7 separate regions of the Homo sapiens genome follow, and regions 1, 2, 3, 4, 5 and 7 are each linked to region 6. Evidence: promoter capture Hi-C in human tissues and cell types (Jung and others, 2019). All regions are on one chromosome and are shown on one strand. The core of a region is centred on a gene start or on the middle of the fragment in contact, and the rest is flanking DNA. Distances in the headings are between cores, read along the strand shown.

Region 1 (3,013 bases), core at 2-2,501, 820 kb before region 6:
GGATTATTGTTAAGACCAAATGTGAAACATTAAGAATAGTACTTGATAATGGTAAACAGTCAACAAATGTTTCCTATTACCATTTAGAAAGATATTTCCATACATGAAGCATATGCATTATCACAAAAATGATTTCCAAGTGGCCATGCTTTCTATTGCTGCTATTTTACATCAGATTAAATGGAGTGCTAACATTATATCAATAAATGTATTATTATAGAAATTCTCTCAATTTGTGATTTAAAAATTTTTACAATTACTGTTTATCTAAATTCTCCATTTATATTTTCTAAAAAAAGTTAAGATTTGAAGCTAAATCCCTTTGAAACGGAGTTAGGCAGGAAGTTGGAATTAACTTTAAATAGGGTGAATATACTTCTCAATCTTCATAAACCAAGATTTTCTCTGCTCTTTATTAAAAACCACAGGAAAACATTTCTCCTTAAGGGTATCAGAGCTTTTGGCCAGCAAAGGGCTCAATGATTATTGTGAAAACAAAAGACACAATAAAAACTGTTGAAATCCAGAGCAAAGTTTAATGTCTGGTAGTTACACATAAATAAATATCTCTGCTTATTCATAAATCCTCTCACAGAAATGGGAAGATTAATTTTTATGAGTTAGAAATAAATTTGAGGGTATTTTTTGAAAGATTGAAAGGGGATTTCCAGATCCCAATGTAATTTCAGGAGATAACTATTAAGAGGGTGCATGAATGGAAAAGCATCAAAGAAATTGATGTTATGCAAAGCAACAACTAGATAAGACAATCCCAAGGGATGGATTTATAAATAAGACACTAAAGCCAACAAAGTTAGCCCATCTGACAGAAATGCATTCTGGAGTTAGGCGATTATTAGGATTATTAGCCATTACATTTATTATAAATCAATTTATTTTTATAAAAAGCTTTTGTTTCAGATTATAACTTCCTTTACTAATAGATATTCTTGCTCTATCATCACTGGGTGCAACATTTTAAATTTTGCAAATTTGTATTGTCAAAGAAAGTAGGGATGTGGCTGTAGGCAGGACAGTGATGCTTGTTTATTCATTCAACCAACATTTATTAAACACCTAAAACATACCAGGTGTGCTCCTGGCACATTATTTGTTTGCATATATTTAAATTTTTAATAGACATATGGAGAAGACAAAGATGATAAAATGACTTACACATTTTCATGATAATTTGCTCATTAAGTAATTTGACCTAAAAACTAAACATCAAAATATTTTAATCAAAAGTTGAGGGAGTAGATAAATATATGAAGGATATGTTCATACTCTAATAGGCAACTGTGGCATGGATGAAGATATTGAATTCTATTTCTTATTTTTATAATTAATCATGTGACCAAGAAGAGATCAAAAGAAAGATAATACGACAACAATAGTAAAAACCCTAGGTGTATTATTTCTTCTTTAAATCAACTTGATTGAGGTATGAATAAGATAAAAAGAAATATACCTATTTCAAATGGATAGTGTGATGAGATTAAAGAAATGCATACACCTGTGGTCTCACAAGTATAATCAAGACATAGAACACAATCATCACCTCCGAAAGGTTTGTTTGGCACCTTTTTAGTCAATCACTTCTCAGAACACTTTGCTGTAGATAAACACTAATCTGCTTTCTGTCCCTAAAGATTAAACCTGCCTTTCATAGAATTGATAATTACTTCTTGCATGTGTACAGTAATTAACAAAAGATAAGACATTATAAAATTGAAGTATGTTGATGTGGTTAGGCTTCATGTCCCCACCCAAATCCCATCTTGAAATGCAATCCACATGCATCGAGGGAGAGATGGAATTGATTAATGAGAGCAGTTTCCCCCATGTTGTTCTCATGATAGTGAATTCTCAGGAGATCTGATGGTTTTATAAATGGTAGCTTTTCCTGCGCTGTCACACACTTCTCTCTCCTTCTGCCTTGTGAAGAGCTGCCATCCGTCATGATTTTAAGTTTCCTGAGACTTCTCCAGCCATGCAGAACTGTGAGTCAATTAAACTTCTTTCCTTTATAAATTACCCAATTTGGGGTATTTCTTTATAGCAGTGTGAAAATGAACTAATACACATATTATTTTGAAAATGTGATCAAGAATTCCAAGCTCATTACAAAATGGTTTCATCATAGATGCAGCACTACAATCATGAAGGGTGGTCAGTGGCTTCCTTTAGGGTATCAGATCTACTGGAAAGGCCCATGTCATTCCTCTCTATGTGATTGGTCCAAGTTTAGCCATGCAAAATAAAGAGTGAGAGAATCATAGAATAATAAAACAAGAGGCATGTAAGCCAACAGATTCAAAGTGTAGACAAAGAAGCTGAAGTCTATATTGCTAAAGACTTTATCCAGGATCACTCAGCTAGTGAGAAGAAAAAGTTAAAGAGGAGACTGGCTTCAGTAAAAGATCATAACTGACTTAACAGGAGTATATGAACTGATAATTCATATCATGGAGAGTCAATTAAACATTTGTTTTAGTCAACTCCAGGAAAGTGGTTTTTATATATTTCTAATATTATCCTTTTCAAAAATGTGTCCTTTCTAATCTCATTGTAGCCATTTAAGTAAAATTAAAATGTTTTTGCCTGCTTAGCTGACATAATGGTAATAATCACAACAATGCTGTCATTATAGTTGGATCCTTTAATCTTCCACACAGCTTGTAAATAACCTAAGTCTGGCTAGGGTTTATTGATTATCATATTGCCATTATAAAACTAGGAGCAGGAGCCAACTTTGATTGATTTCAATAAACATTTGATAATAACACTAACCCCAACCTCGGAGCATTTGAAACAAGAAAGCACGTCCACGTGCGTTATTTCAAAATATTACCTCTTTTTTCCCAAGGTGAGAAAATTAATGCCAGAAATTGATGATTGCTTTTCCTGAAATCACAGAGGTAACGTGAAGTAAGAGGAGACTAGAACCTTATTGCTACTTTTGGTCTAGGACTTGGATCAAGGTTACTGTAGAAGATTTTTCATTACCCAG
Region 2 (3,502 bases), core at 29-2,528, 1.0 Mb before region 6:
TAATATGTAATTTCATAGTAGCTTCTGAGCAAATAATAAATCATTTTCAAACATAACTGTATTATTATTAGAAAACTAAACAATCCCACTAAACAACTGAAAAAAACTATTTCACCCAATTTTTGTCTTATTTCCAACTCTTAAATAATTTTTTATATGCATTTGAATTTTCAGTACAATTCAAGTTATATATATTTGAATACCATAATAGATACTACAGGAGGACTCAATGACTTAAATTTTCATCTTTATTAATTTATCTCTTTTTTTCCTAATGTAGTGATTTTTAAAACTATTTTAAAATTTATTTATTGTACACTTACAGAATCATAGACAAGTCCTAATTTCAGGAAAGACATGCCTGATTAACTCAATGGAGAAATAAAATTAACCCTGAATAAAGAAAATGTGGCACATATACACCATGGAATACTATGCAGCCATAAAAAAGGGTGAGTTCATGTCCTTTGCAGGGACATGGATAAAGCTGGAAATCATCATTCTCAGCAGACTAACACAAGAACAGAAAACCAAACACCGCATGTTCTCGCTCATAAGTGGGAGCCGAACAAAAAGAACACAAGACCAGAGAGGGAAACATGACACACCAGTGCCTATAGGGGGTGGACGCCTAGGGGTGAGATAGCATTTGGAGAAATACCTAATGTAGATGATGGGTTGGTGGGTGCAGCGAACCACCATGGCATGTGTATACCTATGTAACAAACCTGCATGCTCTGCACATGTATCCCAGAACTTAAAGTATAATAAAAAATATTTTAAGAATTAACCGCGAACGACATGTTTATAAATGTTGTAAGATTGCCCTCATTTTCTAGGCCCCTGTTGAGAAATGAAATTGCATAAAATGTCATTAACTAGAAATTGCCTTTTAATTTCAACACATAATAAAATGTTGCCAATTCCACATCATTCTTCCTAACAGTAAATGTATTTAATATACCTCCAAGTTTATTTCAAGTGTCATATTCTTTAATGAATTTAAGAGCAATTATCAGAGTTTAGCAATAAGACTTGGCATCAGAGACTGTTAAAATTTCCTAGGTTATTTTAGTTCACAACTAGGCCTACAGACCACTATCATGTTCATTGTGCTTCTTTACAGTCTTTGCTGAGGAGTAAATAATTGACTTTGGGCAGCTTTAGCTTTTCCCAATGGCACAGGCCTTTGAACTGTCAGAACTCTGCACATTTGCAATGCCCAGACACCTTCTCTATGAAAACCCACCATCATTTGTTCATGCTTAGTGAGACAAAAAAAATCTGACCATTCAAATATAATTTAAATGATGTCTAATTGTGGCACATATTTCTATATTTGCATTTTACTTGCTCATATATAAAATAAGTTGATATAAAGATGAATTAAATACTCAGAAGTTCCATAAAGCAGGGTGATTTTCTTGTTTGTATAAAAATAAATGAAATTACGCAGATATAGAGAAAAAATAAAAAGTATGATGATAAAAAATGTAAAAGTGAAATGCTATTAAGCATTTGAACTTTTTCACTTCTATTATGACTAAGGAAACATCTCAAGAAATAAACTATATAAAATTACCATTTAATAATACATAATATTGGAAGAGGGAGATTATTTTCCCAAAATTACAAAGCAGATAATTACCAAACAAAAAAGCTTGGCAATGTAATTTCAATGCCTTTAATTGTAGTCATTTTGACCTAGTCCTTCATCTTGTTTCTTCTTTTCTCTGTGCTTCTGCTTTTAAAGGCAAGGCAAATTCTCAGGTATTAAAAAGTGTTTACATAAACTTGTGTTTACAAAATAAAATTGGAATTAAACGTTGATGTTTGGTAGATATGAAAGAATATGCTAAATTATTAATAATGAAAAAACAGCGTGTCTGCTTATTATAACACGTATCCTGAAGTGGGCAGAGGCAGATCCCATAAAAGCCAAGATTCTGCCTGCACTGGCTTAGAAGTTTATTGTAAAACATTTTGAGCCAAGGACATTTAGAGGAACAATGCCAAGTTAGTTTGAAGGTGCCAATGCAGAGTAATCTTTAAAAGATGGATACTCCATCATTGAAGTAACTGAAAGTACAATTCATGTCATGTCAATTTAACTTAAGACATCTGTTACCAAGATACAGAAGCATATCTGTCTATTAATTTTTAAGTAGAACTATTCAGTTTGTGCTCACCTACTTAGTTTTAATAAATGTTCTATAAATGCTTCTTTTCAATTGTTATTATTTATGAAGCCAAGTTTCATTCTATGTTATTCTTGGTCATTATTCCAATTGTAAAGTACAGGTAGGAAAGGAGGAGTACAAAGAGAAAATCCTAACTCTTAGTGGAAGCTTGTCATTTCTCAAAATGTGATGTCATCTCTTACCACAGCATTAATCTGAAAGCCTCCAAGTCACCTTAGGGCCCTGTGCATTTCTTGCTTGTCAGTTTCATCCTTTGTGAATTTCCTTTGAAATATGGCAGGTCCTCAGTATGTGTTTATTCAGTGACTATCAATGAAAACAGGCTTTTTATGAGAGTAGAAATGATGATGAGTAAGTTAATAATAGAGTGTCTGAAAACCAAAGACTCAATGAGATGAAGAAGTGATGTGGATAGACAAGGAAATGCATTAACAGCAAGAAATTTAGTGTTTGGGCAGATAAGTCTTACATATCAGTGAGTCGAGCCCCAAGTTTCAGGTTATAAATAGTTTGTGCAATTTTTTCTTTTAGCAGTTGATTTATCATTTAATTTGACTCAGTAAGTGGCACATAAGTCACTTAAAGTAATGGTTCCTTTCACCATAGAATTTGTATGTTGATGGGTTCCATAACTTGCCGTCCAAACAATGAGTCTCATTATCTATAATGAGACACAATAACTCATCCTTCCAAAAACACAAAACGTAGAAATCATCCCAGAATTTTCTATCTCTGATGGTTCAGAGATAATCTTGGTTTTAGTCATTGCTTCAGGCAAGTTCTATAGTGAAGGCATTGATTTTGGAGAGGCAGCTTGTAACACGTACTACTGTGTTCTAATGTCTAATATCAATTCAAAGTTTACAAATTGTGAGTGCAAAGATTGCATCCACGTAGGATTAGTTTATTTGGAATATTTCAATCTTACTTGGAGGGGCTCCATTGGCCCTCCATAGGTCCAGTGTTGAATAGAGGATTATCTAATCGATTTATTGAAGGGCTAGAATAAACCAGAAAATATTCTTATGTTTTCTCTGATTCTAGAAGAGATAGTTATGAGTATAGTATTTGAGGTAAATAAAATTATTTCAAAGTATCAATTAAGACATTAAATTATAATTTGCACATCAGATCTATCTGGATTTTATATATTTCTGTCAATTAATATCATATTTTTCCATTGCATATGAAACATAGTATTGAGGAACTGTCAAAATCCAGGTTCTCTCAAACAATGATATTACTGGATATTGATTGAAAGATATTAAGTAAAAATCCATTTTTTGGGGGCTTCAAATTAT
Region 3 (3,492 bases), core at 933-3,432, 970 kb after region 6:
AAAAAATACTCGGGCTTGGTGGCATGTGCCTGTAAGTCCAGCTACTCTGGAGCCTGAGGCATGAGAATCGCTTGAATCCAGGAGGCGGAGGTTGCAGTGAACCGAGATCATGCCACTGCACTCCAGCCTGGGCAACAGAGCAAGACTCTGTCTTAAAAAAAAAAAAAAAAAAAAATTACCCTGAACTACGTTCTTCCTGAGCTGAACTCTATTCCTCCAAACTAGGAGACTTTCTCAGTGTTTTCAACCTTCCCTCCTTCCATTTGTAAGATGGTCACAGATGTTTCATCTTGGTTCATTCATTTAAAACAGCTATTGCGTGCCTACTGCATATACTCAGACAATGCCAGGCACTAGCAATACAATGGCTAAAAAAAAATTTTTTAGAAGATGATCCTGGCCGGGCGCGGTGGCTCACGCCTGCAATCTCAGCACTTTGGGAGGCCGAGGCGGGCAGATCACGAGGTCAGAAGATCGAGACCATCCTGGCTAACACGGTGAAACCCCGTCTCTACTAAAAATAATTTAAAAAATAGCCTGGCGTGGTGGCGGGCGCCTGTAGTCCCAGCTACTCGGGAAGCTGAGACAGGAAAATGGCGTGAACCCGGGAGGCGGAGCTTGCAGTGAGCCGAGATCGCGCCACTGTACTCCAGCCTAGGCGACAGAGCAAGACTCCCTCTCAAAAACAAAAAAAAGATGGTCCTAATTTCAACACCTTGTATGTTAGGTCTCTGGATAAGCATTACCACCTTTAACAGCGGTTTATACAGTACAAATTGTATTTTGCCACAGATCTGCAATTTGAGTAGGGCTCAGTGAGGAACGCTCCTGTCTCCACACAGCACTCACAGAGGCAGCTGAACTGAAGGATGAGGAATGTGTTTCCAAGATGGCGCCCTCATGTGGCTGGTGAGTTGGTGTTGGCTGTCAGCTTGGGAGTTCGGCTGGGGTCCTCAGTTCCTCTCCACAAGCAATGTGCACCTCCATGTGGCCCTGGCTTTCTCAGAGCATGGTGGCTGGGTTTCAAGGATGAACATCCCAAAGAGAGAGGCAGAAACTGTATTGCCTTTTATGCCTCACCCTCAAAAGTTCCATAACATTACTTCTGTCATACCCAGTTGGTTCCAAGGCAACCACAAATGCCTGCCTAGGTCAAGGAAAGGGGACATAGATTCCATCTCTTGATGGGAAGAATGTCAAAGAACTTGTTTTAAAACTACCACATTTGGATAAATATACACATTCTATTAGGGATAAGTATGGGTAATGGCCATTTCCTGTCTTGGTCAGCTCAGCATAATTAACTAGTAATGAAAGACAAGGATGTTAATTCCCTTGGTAGGGCAATTTCTTTTTATAATTTCCATTCTGAACTCCAGGTTCCCAGTTGCCTGCTGAATATTTAGCAGACATCTCACGCTTAATGTGTCCAACATCTGACTCCAGATGTCTTGCTCCTCCTTTAGCCTTTCACTTCTCAGTAAATGATAACTCCATTCCTCCATTCCTGCACATACAGGTGCACACTGCACATGGAGAGGAACTGAGGCCCCCAGCCAAACTCCCAAGCTGACAGCCAACACCAACTCACCAGCCACATGAGGGCGCCATCTTGGAAACATACCCCCATCCTTCGGCTCAGCTGCCTCTGTTGAGTGCTGTGTGGAGACAGGAGCATTCCTCACTGAGCCCTACCCAAATTGCAGATTTGTGGCAAAATACAATTTTTACTTATAAACCACTGTTAAAGGTGGTAATGCTTATCCAGAGACTTAACATACAAGGTGTTGAAATTAGGACCATCTTTTTTTTTTTTTTTTTTTTTTTTTTTTGAGAAGGAGTCTCGCTCTGTCGCCCAGGCTGGAGTGCAGTGGCGCGATCTCGGCTCACTGCAAGCTCCGCCTCCCGGGTTCACGCCATTTTCCTGCCTCAGCCTCCCGAGTAGCTGGGACTACAGGCACCTGCCACCACCACGCCTCTGTGGATGCCGTGTGGAGCAGACAGGAGCATTCACCACTGAGCCCTACCCAAAAATCGCAACGCACTGGTTATCTGTTCACCTTATTCCCTTGTCTTCTTAGGTCTTTGATCAAATGTCACCATTTTGATGATGCTTTTCCTGACCATGGTTGCCAAAACTTAACTCTCTCCCCTGCCCTAACAGCATACGAAGAAGCATTTCATATATCCTTCTCTTCATCACTTTTCTCCTGGGCACCATCTGACTCATATGTTTTACTCTTTTATTTGCTTATTGCCTTCCTCTCACAAGAACGTAAACTTCGCAAAGACAAGATTTTTTTTTGTCTGTCTTCTTCACGGATGAATCCTTAGTGTTTAGTCTAGTGCCTTGTGCATGATGATGCTCAAGGAGTAGTTGTTGAATAAATGAGTGAATTGAAATTGGCACACTTTGGCAAGTAGCACAGAGAAAGGATCAAAAAGGTAGGAAAATGGGAGGAAGGAGAAGGACTTACTAAAATATTAGACACTAGAAAGTGAAACTGCTTTTGCAAAAATTATAACTGAGGAAACTATGACAGTGAAAGAGATCAAACCTAACTGACTCCATCTTGCTTCTAACCTTCAAGCTGTTCTTGTTCATTCCTTGGCATAGGCTGAACTAACCTTGGGAATAAATTTAGTTTATAGTTTAACTCTGAAACAAAATTGATAATAACCCTTTCCCAAGACTAACATATTAACTACAAGATTAGAAACTACAGTTTAGGGGCCATGCGACCTCCAGCTCCAAGAGTCTGAACCTCCCCAAATTGCTCCTGGGACTAACATCACTACTGTAAAACCTAAGATCAGTGCTTGAGATATTTTGCAGACCCTGCACTCGACGCACCAGCTGACACCACCCAGACCGGTAATCTGGCTCAACCAATTCTGCAATCCCACCCAGGAACAGAAGACAGCAAGAACTCACTTTGACCTCCTATGATTTCATCTTTAACCCAACCAATCAGCACTCCCCACTTCGAGTCCCTACACACCAAATTATCCTTCGAAACACCAGTCCCTGAATGCTCAGGGAGACTGATGTGAGTAACAATAAAACTCTTGTCTCCCACAAAGCTGGCACTGCGTGAACTATTCTTTCTCCTTTGTAATTCCCCTGTCTTGATAAATTGGCTCTGTTTAGGCAAGCAAAGTGAACCCATTGGGCGTTTACAAAATAACCAACATAGCAATATATTTTTTCTTTCTCAAGATCCATTCATAAATGGATTTGAATATTCTTAATGGTAGATTGGCTGGACCAAAGTGAAATGTCTATGTTTATGTCAGTTTCCTATGAGAGTTTCCTCTCCATGGACCTGGGGGAAATGGGCTGGAGGACCTGGCAGAGAAAAACAGGCTTCTGATAAATTGCCTCCACTGTTCCCATTCATCCTTCAGAACACCAGAGGGTTTTATCTATGAGACAGCTCCCCTTTCACGTTTAGCAATAGAGCCCTAACAATAAAAAAAGGAAAGCAATCA
Region 4 (3,291 bases), core at 140-2,639, 770 kb before region 6:
GGGAAGACAAAATCAAACAGACTAAAGAAATTTGAAGCTTCTGGTACCTACGCCTATGGCACACAATAAACAAAGCTCAATTTTTAGCCAGATCACCATAAACCATTTCACTAAAGGACTATTTATCTCAGTTCCTATTACCCAATACATGAGGTCCAGATTTAAACAAAAAATAAAAGCATGATAAAAGGCAAGAAAAAAACCCCACAGTCTGAAGACACAAGGCAAACATCAGAAACAGACACAGATATGACACTGATATTGAAATTATCAGAGAAGGAATTTAAAATAACTGTAATTAACCCATTATAAGCTCTAATGGAAAAAAAACTAACAATGTAAAAGAACAGGTAGGTAATGTAAAAAAGCTATAAAAATATTATAATAAAGTAAAAGAAAATGATAGAAATAAAAATCACCAATCTAAATGAAGAATGGCTTTGATTAGCTCATCAGCAGACTCGACACAGCTGAGAAAAGAATCAGTGAGCTGGATCATGTGGCTATAGAAACCTCCTAAATGAAATGCAAAGAGAAAAAAGAAACTGACAATAAAATAAAAAGACAGAATATCTAAGAACTGTAGGACAAGTTAAAAAGATATAATATACATAATTGGAAAAACATAAAGGGAAGAAAGAATTAAATAAGACAAATTTAAAATGAAATTGGCCAAGACTTTAAAAAATGGATGACTGTATTAGTTCGTTCTCACTCTGCCAATGAAGCTATACTCAAGACTGAGTAATTTATAGAGGAAAGAGGTTTAATTGACTCACAGAAGCAACACTTCATTCTTCACATGGTGGCAGGAGAGAGAAGAATGAGAACAAAGCAAATGGGGAAGCCCCCTCTGAAACCATCAAATATTGTGAGAACTTACTATCATGAGAATAGTGAGGGGGAAACCACCACCATAATTCAATTACCTCCCACCAAGTCCCTCCCACAACACATGGGGATTATGGGAACTACACGCCAAGATGAGATTTGGGTGGGGACACAGCCAAACCATATCAATGACAAACACTAAACCACAGATCCAGAAAGGTCAGAAAATTTCAAGCAGGATATACCTAAAAAATGTATATATAGGCATAATGTATTCAAACTGCAGAAAATCAAACAAAGATAAAATCTTGAAAGAAGCCAGAGGAAAACAATAATACTATAGAATAATAGGAATAAAAAGTATATTAGATATTAGAAGTGATCCAAAAAGAAGGTGCAGTGAATTACTTAGCGTATTTAAAGAAAGTTGTTACCAAGTCAGAATTCTTTATCCAGTAACATTATGCTTCAGAAATAGAGAATAAAGCCTTCCTCAGAAGACAATACTAAGCGAGTTCATAATTATCAGATCTGCCCAATTCGCAGAAATGTCAAAATAAAATTATTTAGGGAGATTAAAATGCACACAGGTCAGACAGTTATATCTACATAAAGAAAAGAAGAATGGCAGTAAATGAACAAAAAAAGTTAAAATACTTCTTTTCATTTTTTTATCATTTTTAATAACAACTTTAAAACAATAATAGGAATCATGCATTCCAAAATTCTGGCATATACATAAGTGAAAAGAATCATAGTAATTTTATAAAAGGTGGGAGGGGGAATTAGAAATACTTTGTTAGAAGTTACCCGCACTACATGTGAAATATTACTGTCTTATTTGCAGGTGGATTTTCAGTGGGTAAAAATGTATTATATATAAAGAACTCTATGGCAACAATAGAGTAAAGCATTTTAATACTTTAATTAGCAGAGTATTTTAAAGTACAATTGACATGCTAAGAGAAGAAATAAAATGAAATCATATATAATGCTCAATTAAAGTCATATAAGGCAGAAAAATAGTGTGGCAGGAAAGAAACAGAACAAATGCAATGAATATCAGTTACAAACATGGTAGATGTTAATGCAACTATATTAATAATCACTTTAAATGTTAATGGTCTAAACACACAAAATAAAAAGATTGTCAGAGTGGACAAAAAATAAAATGGCCCAACTATATATTGCCTACAGGAAATCCACTGTAAATATAATGACCCATAGAAATTAAAATTAAATGAATGGAGAAAGATACACCATGCTAACAATAACTAAAAGAAAGCTGAAACAACTACATTGATTTAAGACACAGCTGACTTCAGAACAAGAGAGTATTAAAGATAAAAAGGAGTGTTAAACAGTGATAAAGAAATAAACTCTCTTAAAGATAAATAATACTTAGCATGTCTGCATTTAACAACAGAATGCAAGAACTGAAAGAACTACAAGAAACAATAGATGAATCCAACTATTTGCCCAACTAACAATATAACTATTGTTATAGTTAGAAACTTAGTCTGTTCAGGCTGCTAAAACAGTAACACCATAAACTGGGTGGCTTATAAGTAATACAAATTTATTTCTCACATTTCCAGAGGCTGAGAAGTCCAAAATCCAGATTTCAGCAGATACGTTGTCGTGTGAAAGCCCCCCACCCACACTTCTTCCTGGCTCATAAATAGCCACATATTCAGTGTATTACATGGTGAAAGGGTAAGGGAGGTCTCTGGAGTCTTTTATAAGAGCAGTAGTCCCATTTATTAGGGAGAAACCCTCATGGCCTAACCACCTCCAAATTCACACTGGGGATTAGTTTTTTAACATAAGAATTGTGGGGTGGGAGGCCACAAACATTCAGTCCATAGAAGAGACCTCAATACCTTTGTATTATTGATAGATCAGACAGGCAAAAAACCAGTAAGTGTATAGTTGACTTTAACAGTAGTGTTAACCAAGTTAGTCTAATTGACATTTAGAAAGTACTCCATCAACAAACAAGATAATATGTGTTCTCCCATAGCTCACAGAGAACATTCACCAAGATAGACCACATTGTGGGCCACAAAATAAAACTTAACAAATTTAAAATAACAGAAATCCTGCGAAGTGTTTTCTCATACCACAATGAAATCAATTAGAAACCAAAAGATAGATTAAAAATCATATAAAATCTGGAGATTAAACAATACACTTTTAGATAACATGGGTGAAGGAAGTCTCAAGTGAAATTTTAAAATACGTATTTTTCAACTAATGAAATGAAAAGACGATTGCAATTTATGTGATACAGTGAAAGAAGTGCTCAGAAGGTAATTTGTAACATTAAATACACATACTAGAAAAGAAGAAATATCTAGGTCAGTAATTAAGCTTCTAATTTTGGCAAATTAGAAAAGAGCGACTTAAGCCGAAAGCTAGCAGAAGAAATGAAATAATAAAAATTAGAACAGAAAGGCC
Region 5 (3,480 bases), core at 116-2,615, 950 kb after region 6:
TGCAGTAAATGAAATTTTATTCCTTCTTTACAATGTTCTCAAAATTATTTTTATGTTTAATCCAAATAAAGAGCAAGAATAAAGCAACATTTCAGATTTTGGTTTCTGGAGACAATAGTTAGAAAGCATGAGTTATGAGTGACTTAAAATTCTTGTTGCCTGTACTTCACTTTGAAATAACATTATGCTTTAAAAAGCATTACACTGCTAAAGGTTAATTAGAATTCTGCAGAATTACTATAGCTAAAAGTAGGTAACAAGATATCTTTTTTTCTATTGTTTAACTCCTTTGTTTCAGAATGCCTATTCCTGTGCATTAAAAGTGTCCCTCCAAGGAAATTAGGACATCTGCAGAGTTGAAAAACACCTAAGTCTCAGTCACTTAGAGTCACACATCAGGGCTCAGAGTGCTATGACTAGGAAAATGCTGACCTCCTTTCATTAGTATGATCGTGCCTTTCCAGCTTTTGATAGATCCAAGCGCTATCTTCCCACCACTCACCAAATGTTCCACCTGTCAAAGGGTTTCAGGTCCCTGCAGACTTCGGTTTTGACCTGTGGGGAAAGTAGACTTCCTCGAACTGGGGAAGCCACATGTTGTACATCCTTCTATAAACTATGATTATCATTCTTAGTAGGAAAATATGTGATTTCTTTTTTTTTTTTTTTTTTTAAAGTAAGCATCAAATATTTGACCAACCAGTTGGGCAGAGAATATACTGAAACTTTTTATATAACCTCATCCAAATGTCCCCTGCATTTAAGAAATGAAATTCTTCTAATTGCGTTTATAAATTGTAAATTATATTGCATTTAGAAATTAAAATTCTTTTTCTTAATTTGTTTTCAAGGTGTTCTTTGCAGAAGATGTGGGTTCAAACAAAGGTGCAATCATTGGACTCATGGTGGGCGGTGTTGTCATAGCGACAGTGATCGTCATCACCTTGGTGATGCTGAAGAAGAAACAGTACACATCCATTCATCATGGTGTGGTGGAGGTAGGTAAACTTGACTGCATGTTTCCAAGTGGGAATTAAGACTATGAGAGAATTAGGCTTAGCTTTTTGCTAAGAACTAGCTAAGTATCTCTTTTAAAAAACGAATCAGTGTGCTTCCATGATGCTTGGGTTACAGTTGTTCTTTCTTGTTTTGGTTTTCATTCATTGCAACTTACCGTGAATATTCTGCTCAAGGTATTGAGAGTGTGTGTTGTTATCTCAACTTACAATTTGTGTTGAAGTTATCAAAATAATACAAATGATAATGCATGACTTTAAAAAAGCATGATTACTCTTAGACTTTTTTTTTTCAAACACAAGCAACAAAAACCAGTACAAGAAGTTAAAAATAAAAATAGAAGTAGGAAGTTGCTTTTTCCAAAAAAACTAAACATGTTTATTCTTGGATTTCTTTTGTCTTAAATAGTCTGGCCTCTCAATACAACCAGGTAATAGTAAATAATGTGACTTTTCAGTGCAGACTCTTACCTTTAAAGTTTCTCAGGAAATCACACTATACCAAATGGCCCACCAAAACATACATGATTGTTATTTGAGAGTTCTGCAACCTATTACCCTGCACTTCCACCTGAAATATCTTAGTTTCAAGGTGCTATACTAAAACAAGAAAGAGAGAAAGAAAATTTACGAATAAGTTATTTTTATGCATTTGAAATGCCATTTGGATGGGGGAAAAAGTGTTAAAATCTCACAGTATATGCAACTTTTTAGGAAACTGTCTTGCAGAGAGTATAGTGTAAACATAACTTTTATATGCACAGGGAAACTGAAAAATTTGTGTGACATTTAATTGCGATATTTTAAGAGTTATGGAATTTTTAGAGCTGAAAGATTTATTGATGATGACCAATCAAATTGATCTTCTCATCTTGTAGATGAGGGAACTGAGGCCGAGACAGAAGGGTTCAAATTATGCAAGGTCAAGCTCAGAGTCCAGATTTCCCCTCATATTCCCCATTGCTTTTTTTTTTTTTTTTTGAGACAGTCTCGCGCTGTTGCCCAGGCTGGATCTTGGCTCACTGCAACCTCTGCCTCCTGGGTTCAAGCAATTCTCTTGTCTCAGCTTCCTGAGTAGCTGGGACTATGGGCACACGCCACCATGCCCGGCTAATTTTTGTTTTTAGTAGAGACAGGGTTTCACCATATTGGTCAGGCTGGTCTCGAACTCCTGACCTCAGGTGATCCACCCGCCTTGGCTTCCCAAAGTGCTGGGATTACAGGCGTGAGCCACCGCGTCTGGCCCCCATTGCTTTTTCCATCAGAGAAAAGTCCAGGTGTTTCTAGGGAGTTGAAGATTCCACTATCCCCAAGGAAATGGGCTCTAAACCATTCTTGATTAGAAGAGGACAGGCAGAGTTTAAATAAATGAAATTTGTGGTGAAGCCAGAAATTTCATTTTGCTCAGCAATTAAAACCTCTGCAGACTACAACAGAAGCTGCTGATGGAAATTGGGGTGGAGCCTCATTTCCCCATTCATACTGACGTGGATGAGCAGTGTGAGGAAGGAAACCAAGAGAACAGCAGGCAGCAGGGTGGAAAGGAACGGACTGACCCATAGATCAGAGTGTGAGCACATAAAAGCAATGACCCCACTGTCATGTTTGGCCATTGCACCTTTTGTGATAGTATCTAAGCTTATGTCCCTCAAAACAGTGTAAGATAGGTTTTCATTAGTATCAGCTTATTTCATTTCTGCTCAAATTAATTTTTAAAAAAATTTAATTCCATATTTGAGCAAATAAAGATGTCTTCATACTTGAGTAATTCAAGACCCCTTTTTTGCTGCTGTTGTTGTTTTGGTTTTTTTCATGGTTTTGTTGTTTTCTTTTGTTGTTGTTGTTTCTTTGTTTTTTGAGATGGAGTCTTGCTCTTTCACCCAGGCTGGAGTGCAGTGGCATGATCTCCGCTCACTGCAACCTCCACCTCCCAGGTTCAAGCGATTCTCCTACCTCACTCTCAGCCTCCTGAGTAACTGGGATTACAGGGGCATACCACCACGCCTGGCTAATTTTTGTATTTTTAGTAGAGACAGGGTTTTGCCATGTTGGCCAGGCTGGTCTTGAATTCCTGGCCTCAAGTGATCCGCCCTCCCCAACCTCCCAAGGTGCTGGGATTACAGGCATGAGCCACCATGCCTGGCCTTCAAGAGCACTTTTTAGTTTATTTAATATAATTCTCTTTGTTGCCGGTCTGTCCGTTGAAGTTGCCTTCTTTGATGCCAGAGGCCAAAGACTTGGCTTCCTCGGGCTTCCATAACAAAGTAACACAGATGGGTGGATTAAGCAACAGAAATTTACCCTCTCACATTTCTGGAGTGTAAGATCAAGGTATCAGCCAGGTTGGTTCCTCCCCAGGCATCTCTCCTTGGTTTGCAGATGCCTGTCTGCTCCCTGTATCTTCACATGACCTTCACTCTGTTTTTCTGCTGTGTCCTAACCTCTTCCTACAAGGACACCAGTC
Region 6 (3,123 bases), core at 453-2,952:
CAAAATATATCTAAGGCCTTGGTTGATTATTCAACGTTCAACGATGAGGGTGATTTTAGGAAACCAAAATTAAATCTACGAAACCACCCACTCCTAAATGTGTAGGGACTAGAGGTCGTTACTAAGCCCTTCAGAAGTAAGCTGAGTTGCTTCTCTCTGCCATTCTTGCTCATTTGATTTTTCCTGATGAGTGGAAAGCAATGTTTTTGTTTTTGTTTTTCAAGTAAGCAATCTCGCTAGGAAAAAAGAAGTTGGAAAGCATCCGGAAAAGAAAGCTTGTAAGAGGGACGTGTGGGAGAACTAGAAGGGACGCTTCTGGCTGGGGCCAACTGAAGTGGGGAAGATCTGGGGAGGAGCGAGGAAAGGACCCAGATCTACTTGGAGCCAACCAAGAGACCGGACGGGAGTGGGGCGGAAAGGCGGAGACCAGTTCGAGCACTAACGCGGGGGCGCGCGAGTGTGAGGGTTGCGGGTCCGCCCGGGGCTAGGGCGGTCGCTCTCGCCATTGTCCCCGCGGCTTTCCGCCTGTGAAACACGTCCTTCCTCTGGGTCCTTGAGCCCCTCCCACTTTTTGGAGAGAAGAGCCACTCAGTTTTTTTTCCTAAGGACCTGTTGGTGGACCTCTCCTCGCTTTCGTAACGCGGATATAGCCTTTTCCCTTCCTGGTAGGAAGAGGAAGGAGGGGTCCGGGAAGGAAGCCGATTTCCTTCTTTCCCCCTCTGCACGCTTGCTAGCCCCAGCGATCGCTGCTGGCCCCCGGGTAGGAAAGTGGGGTTCCTGGCCGTTTCTGCGACGCTGGCCTAGGGCTTGCAGCTGCTGTTGAGTGAAAGCACGCAGACTGGCGGGAGCCGATCATTTCTCGAATGAAGAAGAAAAAGCGCAATTCCCTCCTTATGCTCTAGGGAATTGAGCCGCGTCCCAGATCACCCATTCCAGAAATGTGAAACCGGGCCCTCACAAAGTCGTCTCTGGTGAAGAGGTGGCGTGCGGGGTGGGGGTTGGTGGAGGGTGAAGGCATAAGCAAACATATTTTAAAATCCAGATCGTAGGAAGTGTCACCTGGCCCCTCACCCAGGCATGCTTTCTGGGGGAAGCGCAGGGCCAAGCTTTCCCTAGAAAAGCTGGGGCGAAGAGAGAGCAGGCGGCGGCTAAGGAGCTCCTGGCAGGCTGGGAAGGTGGAGAAGTGGGGTGAGGTATTTTTCTAGAAAGTGTAGCCCTAGCTCATCTCCTAGATTGGGGAAGAGGGAACTGAGGGAGGAGGGAAGGAGACCCAGGGCAGCTCCAGGATAGGGAAATGTTGAAGAAGGGACTGCGTTCTCCAACCGAACCCTCCCTCCTGGGAACCGCAGCCCAGCGCGGTAACTGAGTTACCGCAACCGGGCGGTGGGGAGGAAGGGTGGTCCAGGAAACCGGCGAGGGAGAAAAGCGGTGGAAGGGAGAGTCTTCTCCCTGGAGCGGCCCCAGCAGTACAAAGTGCTGGTCACAGCGCCCCTTCCGCCCCTAGATTGACGAGCAGTGGCGTGGAGCCAGCGCGGAGGCTGCCCCCTCCCCCTCCCGAGCCCGCAGCGCGGAGCGCGGTTTAGCACCAACGGAGCCGGGGGCGGCGTCTTTGGGATGGAAAAGGGCCAAAGGGGAGGAGTGGGGTGGGGGTGGGGGTTTCACTGGTCCACTATAAAAGGACCGCTCGGCTGCCCGGTTCTTGCACTCGCTGGAAAGCGGCTCCGAGCCAGGGGCTATTGCAAAGCCAGGGTGCGCTACCGGACGGAGAGGGGAGAGCCCTGAGCAGAGTGAGCAACATCGCAGCCAAGGCGGAGGCCGAAGAGGGGCGCCAGGCACCAATCTCCGCGTTGCCTCAGCCCCGGAGGCGCCCCAGAGCGCTTCTTGTCCCAGCAGAGCCACTCTGCCTGCGCCTGCCTCTCAGTGTCTCCAACTTTGCGCTGGAAGAAAAACTTCCCGCGCGCCGGCAGAACTGCAGCGCCTCCTTTTAGTGACTCCGGGAGCTTCGGCTGTAGCCGGCTCTGCGCGCCCTTCCAACGAATAATAGAAATTGTTAATTTTAACAATCCAGAGCAGGCCAACGAGGCTTTGCTCTCCCGACCCGAACTAAAGGTCCCTCGCTCCGTGCGCTGCTACGAGCGGTGTCTCCTGGGGCTCCAATGCAGCGAGCTGTGCCCGAGGGGTTCGGAAGGCGCAAGCTGGGCAGCGACATGGGGAACGCGGAGCGGGCTCCGGGGTCTCGGAGCTTTGGGCCAGTACCCACGCTGCTGCTGCTCGCCGCGGCGCTACTGGCCGTGTCGGACGCACTCGGGCGCCCCTCCGAGGAGGACGAGGAGCTAGTGGTGCCGGAGCTGGAGCGCGCCCCGGGACACGGGACCACGCGCCTCCGCCTGCACGCCTTTGACCAGCAGCTGGATCTGGAGCTGCGGCCCGACAGCAGCTTTTTGGCGCCCGGCTTCACGCTCCAGAACGTGGGGCGCAAATCCGGGTCCGAGACGCCGCTTCCGGAAACCGACCTGGCGCACTGCTTCTACTCCGGCACCGTGAATGGCGATCCCAGCTCGGCTGCCGCCCTCAGCCTCTGCGAGGGCGTGCGCGGCGCCTTCTACCTGCTGGGGGAGGCGTATTTCATCCAGCCGCTGCCCGCCGCCAGCGAGCGCCTCGCCACCGCCGCCCCAGGGGAGAAGCCGCCGGCACCACTACAGTTCCACCTCCTGCGGCGGAATCGGCAGGGCGACGTCGGCGGCACGTGCGGGGTCGTGGACGACGAGCCCCGGCCGACTGGGAAAGCGGAGACCGAAGACGAGGACGAAGGGACTGAGGGCGAGGACGAAGGGGCTCAGTGGTCGCCGCAGGACCCGGCACTGCAAGGCGTAGGACAGCCCACAGGTAGAAGAATTGCTCTCGTTTGTCTGTCCATTCATCCTCCTCTCCTCACTTTATCTATCCCACGCGACTTCAGGGTAGACTCCTGCTGGCAGGCAGGATCATAAGTCCGCGGACAGAACGGAGGCCTGGAGTGGAGGAATGTGGTTTGAGGTTTGGATTGGTGAACTCAGCTAGAAAACATACTTGCATTTGCCCGAATAATGAATAACCAAGAAAAAAACTGACAAACGATTTTCT
Region 7 (3,144 bases), core at 46-2,545, 800 kb before region 6:
AAAAAAGGAGGTATCTCAGGAAAGGTTCTAAGGCCAAGCTGCAGTGTTGAAAGGTTTATAAATCTATTTTGATTCACATAAGCATTAACTCTTTACACAAAATCTGGCATCAGTAACAATGATTTATTATTTTTTTATTTCCAACACGAAGGAATGGAAAAGTTAGAAATCATATTTTATTTTTCTTGCTTGCAGTGCAGTCCTACTTGTCATCATATTTTTCTAAGTTTAAGCCCTTGTTCAGAGGGAATGTGGCTGGTTAATGTAGGTATTTTAACTGAAGATGGTACCTGTTGTAGGAGGGACCCAGTAGGAGGTAATTGAATCATGGGGAGGTTTTTCCCATGCTGTTCTTGTGATAGTGATTAAGTCTCATGAGATCTGATGATTTTATAAAGGGAAATTCCCTTGCACATGCTCTCTTTGCTGCCATGTAAGATGTGCCTTTGCTCCTCCTTCATTTTCCGCCATGATTGAGGCCACCTCAGCCATGTGAAACTGTGAGTCCATTAAACCTCTTTTTCTTTATAAATTTCCCATTCTCAATTATATCTTTATTAGCAGCATGAGAACAGTCCCTAACTAGGTACACTCCCTAACTAGGTACTTCATGGAACACCAGTGTCTGAGTGATTTCCAGGGACAAAGAATAAAAGAAAAGCTACCCCCGGTTAGTCAGGAAAGTATGCTATTGGCATTTTGCACTTCATAGTAGGTAGAAATAAAATCTGTGTAAATACTCTACTTAAAATGATTTATGTGCCTTTCAACTCTAAAATCAAACTGTAAGTTATAGTAAAAACTATAAAATGTGCAGATTACATGTAATGATAGTGCTATAAAGTTTAAGAATTAGCAGAGGACATAATACGAAAAAGAGAAGATGAGCATAACGCACTATTATTTTTCTATTGGTTCTTCTAGATTAGGATTCTCACCATCTCTTTGGTGAGTAGTGAGTGGACTATATTATATTATCTTTGTTGTACTGTTTCCATATTAGATGTACATAAGAATTGTATATTGGAATATGTTTAGTTTTATCATATAGAGAAGAGTATTTATATACATTTCTTATGTTTATTATATCCCCATTTCACACCCCTTATATACACTTATACATGAACTATGTGACTCAACCAATACTTGCAACTAAGAACATACATGTTCAAATCAGAAAAACTTCAGGTAAGTAACGTGCCTTTTAGAGAATATTTACATTTAAAGAATCTTATTTCCCACTGGATAGACTACATTTTACAGCTGCTGTATGTGCATAATTACACATACACTGTATGTGCAGTGTGTTCCTGTTTCCTTAGATCTGCTATGTTTATTCCCTACTCATCCAACTCGTGAAACATCATCCAACTCATCAGCTCATCCGAGTCATGAAACATTGTCCCCACTCATGTGCAAAAAACCTCCCCTGTCTTTCCAAGTTTGTCCAGTGGGTTTGTTTTCTCCTGACCAGTATCCATATCAGGTTCATGTATTTTGAACTTATTCTTCCCTTTCTAAATAATATATTGAAATACTTTTCTCCCTGAAGTGCCTTGAACACATTGGTGATGAATGAGGGAAAGTTTTACTGAAAATCTGGGTGACAAAGGTAGGTTATGTAAAAGCACGGTTGATATGGTTTGGATTTATGTCCCTGCCCAAATTCTTCCTCCATGTGGAATTGGAGGAGGGGTCTGGTGGGAGGTGCTGATTATGGTGATTATTCCCTCTTGCTGTTCTCATGATAGTGAGTGAGTCACATATCGTTCCTTCCTGAATGGACTCCTGTGACTTGTAGAATGTTATGTGTTGAATCAGTCACTGGCATGAGGCATGACGTTACTTTAAGATAAATCACAGCATACAAATAAAGCTGGCAGGAGCTAGATTTCCCTAAAGTGCATGAATTTTCCAGACATATAATTACAGTTGATTTCTAAACTCCATCTTATACGTCAGTTTTTGATCTAGCTTGCCTTCCAAGACATGCTTATTGTTGTATGTGGAATAGCATATTGCTATGTTTTATAACTCTGCTCCTCTGGTAAATATAAATGTAATTTTTTTCCAAGAAATATAAGGACCCAATAAAAGTAGTGTGTGCACACTTGTGCTCACATGTGACTGTTTACACAACTAACATGCTAATCAACTTCAATTGTGGTATCTCATTTGTTTTTTATTTAATTTCATTTGAGGTAGGTACTATTATTCACTGATGTACACAGATATCAAGCTTACTATATAGACAGAGATATAAATATTGACATGGATGTGACTACCTGTAACTGTCTAGATTAAATCCTTTTCTTGTAATAATTTCTTTTTCAAAGCAACCTGAGTTGCGGAAAGTAACTTGTTTCTAATTTATTATACTTCTCTTGCTCTGGCAAAACTTTCTGGATACTGCTGAATTTAGAAGATCTGTTGAATCTAAAATATTTCTTTAGAACCTTAAGATGTTATTTGGCCTGATTTTATTTCATGTTAGTTCCATCACTATCTAAACAGCCTGTGTGTGATGAGAGTTTGGTTACTGGGGCCCCCATGACTCACTGTGTCTAGCTGTTGGCAACGGCATTATGGAAACTTCTGAGTCTGAATCTGGTGACATCCCATATGTTGTTGACCAGGTTTCCTGTGGTCTAGACAGTGGCCTGAGAGAGGATAATTTTTGTTAATATCTATTCCCTGAGCCATAATATGTAAATATTGCTTATTTAGGTATTTTCAAAATTATCTCAAAACTCTTCAATGTTTTTGTGTACAAGCTATCATCTTAAGTTACAACAGTGAATATTTAGTGTGTGTGCTTATTGTCTAGTCAGGCATGTTCTGGAAAGAATTTCATGAACTACAATACTTGTCACTTTATAATCTTTAGTTTTAATGTTCATATAATTATGTTTGAAAAATTTATAATATGGTAAAATCTGCTAATATTCACTGTGGGGAACTTTATTTGAAATACTGTGCTGTTTAATGATAACTACCTGTCTATCGTCTATCTAATCAAATTGTTTTACTACCAGAAAACCTAAGACACAAAACGAAATATTGTTTTAAAACCATCATATGAGACCTGAATTATTTACTTATAGAATATAACTTGTTTTAAATTTCTCTTTAATAAATAATTTA

What was found. Contacts are between HindIII fragments. The study calls those that stand out against the background at their distance.
Region 1: a contact is called between a fragment that was not itself captured here and the fragment with the promoter of ADAMTS1 in region 6, in 3 of the 25 tissues and cell types used here (dorsolateral prefrontal cortex, mesendoderm cells and thymus).
Region 2: a fragment that was not itself captured here is called in contact with the fragment with the promoter of ADAMTS1 in region 6 in 2 of the 25 tissues and cell types used here (dorsolateral prefrontal cortex and hippocampus).
Region 3: a fragment that was not itself captured here is called in contact with the fragment with the promoter of ADAMTS1 in region 6 in 1 of the 25 tissues and cell types used here (dorsolateral prefrontal cortex).
Region 4: a contact is called between a fragment that was not itself captured here and the fragment with the promoter of ADAMTS1 in region 6, in 4 of the 25 tissues and cell types used here (dorsolateral prefrontal cortex, heart left ventricle, lymphoblastoid cells and 1 more).
Region 5: a contact is called between a fragment that was not itself captured here and the fragment with the promoter of ADAMTS1 in region 6, in 1 of the 25 tissues and cell types used here (dorsolateral prefrontal cortex).
Region 7: a fragment that was not itself captured here is called in contact with the fragment with the promoter of ADAMTS1 in region 6 in 1 of the 25 tissues and cell types used here (IMR-90 fibroblasts).

What each region holds. Positions count from the first base shown.
Region 1 is chr21:27,665,995-27,669,007 of GRCh38, reverse strand. The region is part of intron 2 of LINC01673 (long intergenic non-protein coding RNA 1673); the gene reads right to left. Among named protein-coding and RNA genes, the nearest start is that of LINC01673, 29 kb to the right of the region's middle. The HindIII fragment of the contact is 4,608 bases long and covers 1-3,013 here.
Region 2 is chr21:27,838,940-27,842,441 of GRCh38, reverse strand. No RefSeq gene overlaps it. Among named protein-coding and RNA genes, the nearest start is that of LINC00113, 120 kb to the right of the region's middle. The HindIII fragment of the contact is 3,565 bases long and covers 1-3,060 here.
Region 3 is chr21:25,869,879-25,873,370 of GRCh38, reverse strand. No RefSeq gene overlaps it. Among named protein-coding and RNA genes, the nearest start is that of GABPA, 140 kb to the right of the region's middle. The HindIII fragment of the contact is 8,437 bases long and covers 1-3,492 here.
Region 4 is chr21:27,616,477-27,619,767 of GRCh38, reverse strand. No RefSeq gene overlaps it. Among named protein-coding and RNA genes, the nearest start is that of LINC01673, 20 kb to the left of the region's middle. The HindIII fragment of the contact is 5,420 bases long and covers 1-3,291 here.
Region 5 is chr21:25,889,240-25,892,719 of GRCh38, reverse strand. It overlaps APP (amyloid beta precursor protein), which reads left to right. Exons shown (of 18, transcript NM_000484.4): 17 at 852-998. Among named protein-coding and RNA genes, the nearest start is that of GABPA, 160 kb to the right of the region's middle. The HindIII fragment of the contact is 4,595 bases long and covers 1-3,480 here.
Region 6 is chr21:26,843,988-26,847,110 of GRCh38, reverse strand. It overlaps ADAMTS1 (ADAM metallopeptidase with thrombospondin type 1 motif 1), which reads left to right and starts at 1,702. Exons shown (of 9, transcript NM_006988.5): 1 at 1,702-2,886. The coding sequence starts at 2,157. RefSeq lists enhancers at 318-917, 918-1,518. The HindIII fragment of the contact is 5,494 bases long and covers 692-3,123 here.
Region 7 is chr21:27,648,181-27,651,324 of GRCh38, reverse strand. LINC01673 (long intergenic non-protein coding RNA 1673) reads right to left here. Exons shown (of 4, transcript NR_183539.1): 2 at 2,560-2,660. Among named protein-coding and RNA genes, the nearest start is that of LINC01673, 11 kb to the right of the region's middle. The HindIII fragment of the contact is 4,098 bases long and covers 1-3,144 here.